Linked DNA regions of Homo sapiens: region 1 is linked to region 2. Evidence: promoter capture Hi-C in 16 types of primary human blood cells and fetal thymus (Javierre and others, 2016). All regions are on one chromosome and are shown on one strand. Each heading gives the region's core, a stretch centred on a gene start or on the middle of the fragment in contact. The rest is flanking DNA. Distances are from core to core; before and after follow the strand shown.

The links. The method cuts DNA at HindIII sites, captures the fragments that hold promoters and counts their contacts. A CHiCAGO score of 5 or more calls a contact.
Region 1: the fragment with the promoter of KIF20B here is called in contact with the fragment with the promoter of CCSER2 in region 2 in 2 of 17 cell types (total CD4 T cells and neutrophils); the score reaches 9.5 in total CD4 T cells.

What each region holds. Positions count from the first base shown.
Region 1 is chr10:89,700,326-89,703,025 of GRCh38, forward strand. It overlaps KIF20B (kinesin family member 20B), which reads left to right and starts at 1,265. Exons shown (of 33, transcript NM_001284259.2): 1 at 1,265-1,355. RefSeq lists a silencer at 787-866 and enhancers at 911-1,426, 1,427-1,943. The HindIII fragment of the contact is 4,302 bases long and covers 768-2,700 here.
Region 2 is chr10:84,327,315-84,330,014 of GRCh38, forward strand. It overlaps CCSER2 (coiled-coil serine rich protein 2), which reads left to right and starts at 1,275. Exons shown (of 10, transcript NM_001284240.2): 1 at 1,275-1,494. RefSeq lists a silencer at 1,039-1,768 and an enhancer at 1,819-2,168. The HindIII fragment of the contact is 12,289 bases long and covers 1-2,080 here.

The DNA.
Region 1 (2,700 bases), core at 15-2,514, 5.4 Mb after region 2:
TTCCCCCCTCCTCTTTTTATTTTATAAAATCTGTTATTTTAGAAAGTTGCAAGACTGGTACGATGTACACCATTATACCCTTCAACTAGATTCACCAATTACTAATATTTTGCCACATTTGCTTTCTCTATTTTTTTGCCATATCTTTTGAAGGTAAGCCGCAAACACTGTGACACTTTGCTGCTAATTACTTTAGCAAGCGCCTTCCAAAAACAAAGGCATTCTTCCACTTAATCACAAATTAATTCTCACATGCAATCAATTTAAAACTGATTCAATATCATCTAATATGTAGTTCATATTTAAATTTCCCCAGTTGTCCACAAATGTCTTTCGAAGTTTTTTTTTTTTTTTAAAAACTATGAACCAGCCAAGATTCACAAATTTCATTTGGTTTCTTTTGACTCTCGACTAAAGTAATTTTCCACTTCGTTTTTTTCTTTTTCCTGTCATGACACTGACATTTTTGAAGAGCCTAGGCCTGTTGTCTTGTAGAATATTCTACATTGTTTTTTTCTGATTGTTTCCTCATGATTAATGTCAAACATTTCTAGCACAAATACTATCGGGTGATATTAGCGATGCTAAGTATCTTCACTTGGTTAAGGTATGTCTAATAAATCTCTTCAGTGTAAAATTCTATTTTCCCTTTATAATAAGAAATGATCTGTAGGGTGATTCTTTGAGATACTAACATCCTCTTCCCTACAACCTTTCAGTTAATTGTTTGTTTTAGCATCTTGCATTCATTAGTTTTAGCATTCATAAGCTTACCTATATCAATTTTTAGACTGGCAGTTGCACAATGGGGATGCAGCGAGGGAAGTGACCCTCCGGATCCCGGGATGCCGAGCCTTTTTCTGCCCCGTAGGGACAGGACTGGGAAGTGGCTAGCCCGCCATTCCTCGGCCCGTCCTTAGGGGAGTCGCAGGACTAAGTGCAGTGGCAGTGGCCTCACCTCGGGCCTTCGCCACATCTTTATTGCCTCAAGGACAGAATTGGAGATCGGTGTCCCAGTCAACAGCGTGGTACTTATGACAGCCGCGAGAAAGCGCACTACTAAAGCCCGGCTAGCAGAGCTGGGAGGCAAACCAGACCGTCAGCACCAGGGCGGCCCACGCCTGCTTCCGCCCATTGGCTGCCCGCGTTTCAAGACCCGCCCCCATATTGGAGAGCTTCTTCCGGTAGCCACTGGAAAGCCCGCAGCGCGAGCCGGCTACGCTCCCTGGCGGAGCTCTGGACGCCCCACCTACTCCCAGCGTTCAGTGCGGTGCCCTGGCCGCCATTGTTTGAATTTGAAAACGGTAACATCGCAGTGCTGCTCGCGGGTCTGGCTAGTCAGGCGAAGTTTGCAGGTGAGGAGGTGACCCGCGGGAATGTGTGGGGAAGGAGGTGGGTGACTGCGCATGTATGGGGCCTAAGGTGGGGAAACGGCTTTGGCAATGTGGACATGTTCCGACAGGGCTCATACCCCAGTGGAGGTTACTGTCAGGAACTGGGTTGCGGAGCGATGCGAACACGGGGTACGCAGCGAGGAATGAGTCATACTAATTCGGTTACGGTTTAAATCTCGCCTCCACTGCTAATTAGCTGAGTGACGCAAGACAATTCATTTAATCTCTCTCTGTACCTTAGTTTTCTTATCAGTTAAAAGGCTGCAATGAAGTGTCTATTTCTTTCGGCTTTTGTGAAGATTAAATGGTAATGTGTAAAGTTATTAGTGCTGGCACACAGTAGGTACTAAATGTTTGCAGTTATTAATATTATTATTGTTGTTGCTTCTGTTGTTGTTGAGGAACAGGCCTGTTTTGCCACACCTAGTTTTCTGAAGCTCTGAGGTGAGCAGTTTGCTCGGCTGGTAGGTAACACGGCCTTTTTGCGGGGGGAGCCCTGTGGTAGCCTCTGTGCACTTATTTCCAGACTACTCCTACTGGTCCTTGGGGCTTGCCCTTCTAGGGTTTTGCAGTGCCAGGCTGAAGAGTTTGTGGCACAGTGACTGCTGTCATTCCCCAGTTTAGAAGGCTTTCTCCATCTCGATTCGCTCGCTGGTTCAGTGATGCATGTCTGGCACAGTTCTCTTATATTTCTTGCTAAACTACTAGTTTACAGAAGTTCACGCCTTATGGGTTAGGTAGTGTAACAGTGTATTTATCTTACATGTCCAAGACTCCAGATTTTAAATTGTAAAAATAACATAAAATACTCATCGATTAGTTGTGAAGACTTTTTTTGAGGCTTTGTGTTGTAGACCACATTCAGAAACCTCATTCAGCAACAGATTCTGCTATTTTTCACCAAAGTCTCCAATTGTGGATTCTTATTGGAGAGAGGGTAAATATGCAGTTTTCCAGTCAGAGCAGCCTTTTGAAATGAAAAATGAGGTCTTGGAGCCTGCTGTCACGAAAGATAATATTACAGACTAGGACCGACTTTTTTTTTTTTTTTTGGAATAGTATTTTCTTTATAACCATTATTTTAAGTCATTAGGTAGTCTTTATCCCTGCATAAGTCGCTGAATTTGTTATAGGGGATACAGAGTGGTATAAGGCAAGGTTCTTGCCATCAAGAAGTTTCCAGTTTAGTTGGGAAGGCCACGTATAAGTAGAAGTCATCTAAAATCGCAAGAAGTTACAGTAAGTCTGAACACTTTTAGAAATGCTAGGAAGTAGTTTGTTCATTGAAAAATGAGCATATGAACAA
Region 2 (2,700 bases), core at 25-2,524:
GAGATTGCACAGCATTTAGACCTAGTCTTTGTCAATATTTTAAGCACACATTATTGTCCAATACATTAAATATCTTAGGGATTGATATTTAAAAGACATTATTTTCTAAATATGAAAGTGTATTATTAAATGAAGTGTGGTTATACAAATCAGGCATTCCGTCTGCTTTTTCCATTTGAGTATCATTGATCTGGAGACAGGAAAGAACTGGATATTTTTCAAGCAGTTCTCCTGAAATGTTATTACAACCGAGCTGTTGGGGCCGACGAGGATTTCAGAGAACTGCAAGTCTACAACCAGGTAAGGGCAACTCCAGAGCTTTAAACAGCCGGCCAGGCCCGGAAGCCTTCCAGGCTGAGGACTCTCAGCAGCAGGACTGGCCGCGTCGAGGAAAAACAAGAGGGGAAGAGATGGCCTCTGGGGGATGGAAGCCCCAAAGGGAAGAAAGACCTGGTTTCTGGCAAAGAAACCACATTGGCCAGGAGCTGTGGCTCACGCCTGTAATCCCAACACTTTGGGAGGCCAAGGTGGGAGGATTGCTTGAGCCCAGGAGTTTGAGACTAGCCTGTAAGACCACTTCCCCCAACTCTAAAAAGAAAAAATAAAAATTAGCCGGGTATTTGGGTCAACTTGTGATAGTTTACTTTGACTAGTGTGGTCTTAGTTGTAATTATTTCGGAGGCTTGGTGATACACGCCTGAGGCGAGAGGATCGCTTAAGCCCAGGAGGCTGCAAGTGAGCTGTGATAGCGCCACCGAACTCCAACCTGGGTGACAGGGCGAGACTCTGTTTCAAAAAAAAAAAAAAAAAGGGAAAACCAGATCAGCACTTGGGGTGCCCCTTCCCCTCAGCTTTAGCAAGATCCTGTGTTTTGATGCGGTAGGCAGGTGCGTGGTTCAGTCATGCCCAATGCTCAGACCACTCCTCACTTTTCACATCCAGGAGGAGGAGCTGTCAGGTTTGACCGCACTCAAGCAGCAAATGTAGTCCAGGGGACGGCTAGAGGTGAGGTCAGCCGCAAGACTGGCGTCACTGCGTGGGCCCAGCAAAAACCTGAGTCAGGAGGCGGCCAGGCAAGGTCAGTGGAGGGGGCGGGGCCCGAAGCGGAGGCGGAGCTTGGGAAAGCCTGGCGTGAGGGCGGGGCGGGGCCAGAGGTGGGCTGAGGCCGGATCAGGCGGTGGGGGCGGTCCCCGTAGCCCCGTGAGGCTCGCGCCTGCGCACGGGCCCGCGGCGGGGCGGGACTGCGCGTGCGCGGTGCGCCGGCCCTGGAGGGCGGAGTCCGGGCGGGCGCCGGCCGAGGGAGGGGGCGCGGCGGCTTTGGAGTCCGGCGCTCCCTCAGGCCGCGGACGCGATGCTGGTTGCTGCGGCTCGGGCGGCGGGGCTGGCGGGGATGTGACGGGCGGCCCTTCGTCTCACCTTCCGTCCTCGGGCCCGCAGGTCGCAGGGCGGCCTGCAGCTGGGCCGCGGCCGAGGAGGCAGCGCGACCTCCGCACGGTGAGATCCGGGCTCAGGGCCAGAGCCGGGGCCGGGGTCGCGGCGGGCGCCGGGGGCAGCCCAAGACCAGGCACGCAGTCCGGGGCGGGGCGGAGGCCCGAACTCCCGGGCTGAGGCGGTGTCGCCCTCCCGTACCCGGCCTCCAGGGTGAGCCTCTCTAGCCCCTCGCGAGCCGCCGGACGCGGGGCGGGCGCGGACCCGGGAGGCCGGAGGGCGCCCTCCCTGCGGCTGTGACAGCGCGGGGCCTCGGGCCGCGGGCGCCGCCGCCTTTCAGGAGAAATCAGGGCGAGGCTGAGGCACTCTGATTTCGGAGCCTGGTTGCGTGTGAGGGTGGATAGGGAAAGTACCGGGGCTCCCCGAATGAGTTCGATTTTTTTTTTCTTTCAATTACTGGGCTAAATGAAAGACACACCCTAAAACACATCCTGAGGTGAAACTTTGGTGGGGCACACCGTTGCCGTAGGTTCAGATCTTCTCTCTTGTCTTTAGACATGTATTTTCATACATTTTTAAATAATGCACCTACTTTCTTGATAAAGTAAAAGGAGGAATGAAGGGACTCCTTTGTGGTGGTCCTTGGTGGCGAAGCTTGTTTCCATTTCAGTAATTGCATATTCATCTGTGTGGGCTCCCCGACCAATGAGGCTGGCTGCTCCCAGACAAGGCCTTAGCGGAGTGGAAATGACTGACGCAGGGACTCTGGTCTCAGATTAGAGTGTTGGTAGCTCACTCCTGTAAGAGAGAAATTGAGCTTTAAGCTTTTTAAAATAGCCATATGAAAAGCATTCCTTTTCTCCTGAGCATTAAAATATGACGGAACCTATTCATTTGGCCAGTTGTTTTTTTTAAAGCATCATCTTTTAGACTAGAGACTTTAGAGATGGCAGCTGCTCTTTAACCAAAAGGAACTTAAGATGCTCTCCTGCAAAAGATGGGTTCAAAACATGTCTTATCCGTCATCCATATGTGATAAAAATGTAAATATTCCTGAGTGTTTGCCTGAAATCAGTCTTCTTCCTCTTGGACTTTATTACTGTTTCTCTTAATTTATGAAAGCTTGTTACTGTTATTTTTTGTTTTCGTTTGTGTTCTAAACAACATTGGCTTCAAATAATCTTCAGGTTAAAAATGCACACTTTGTTGAACCCTTTAGCCATAATTCATACTGTCGTACTTCAGCATAAGCCATAGTTAAGAAAGCACTAG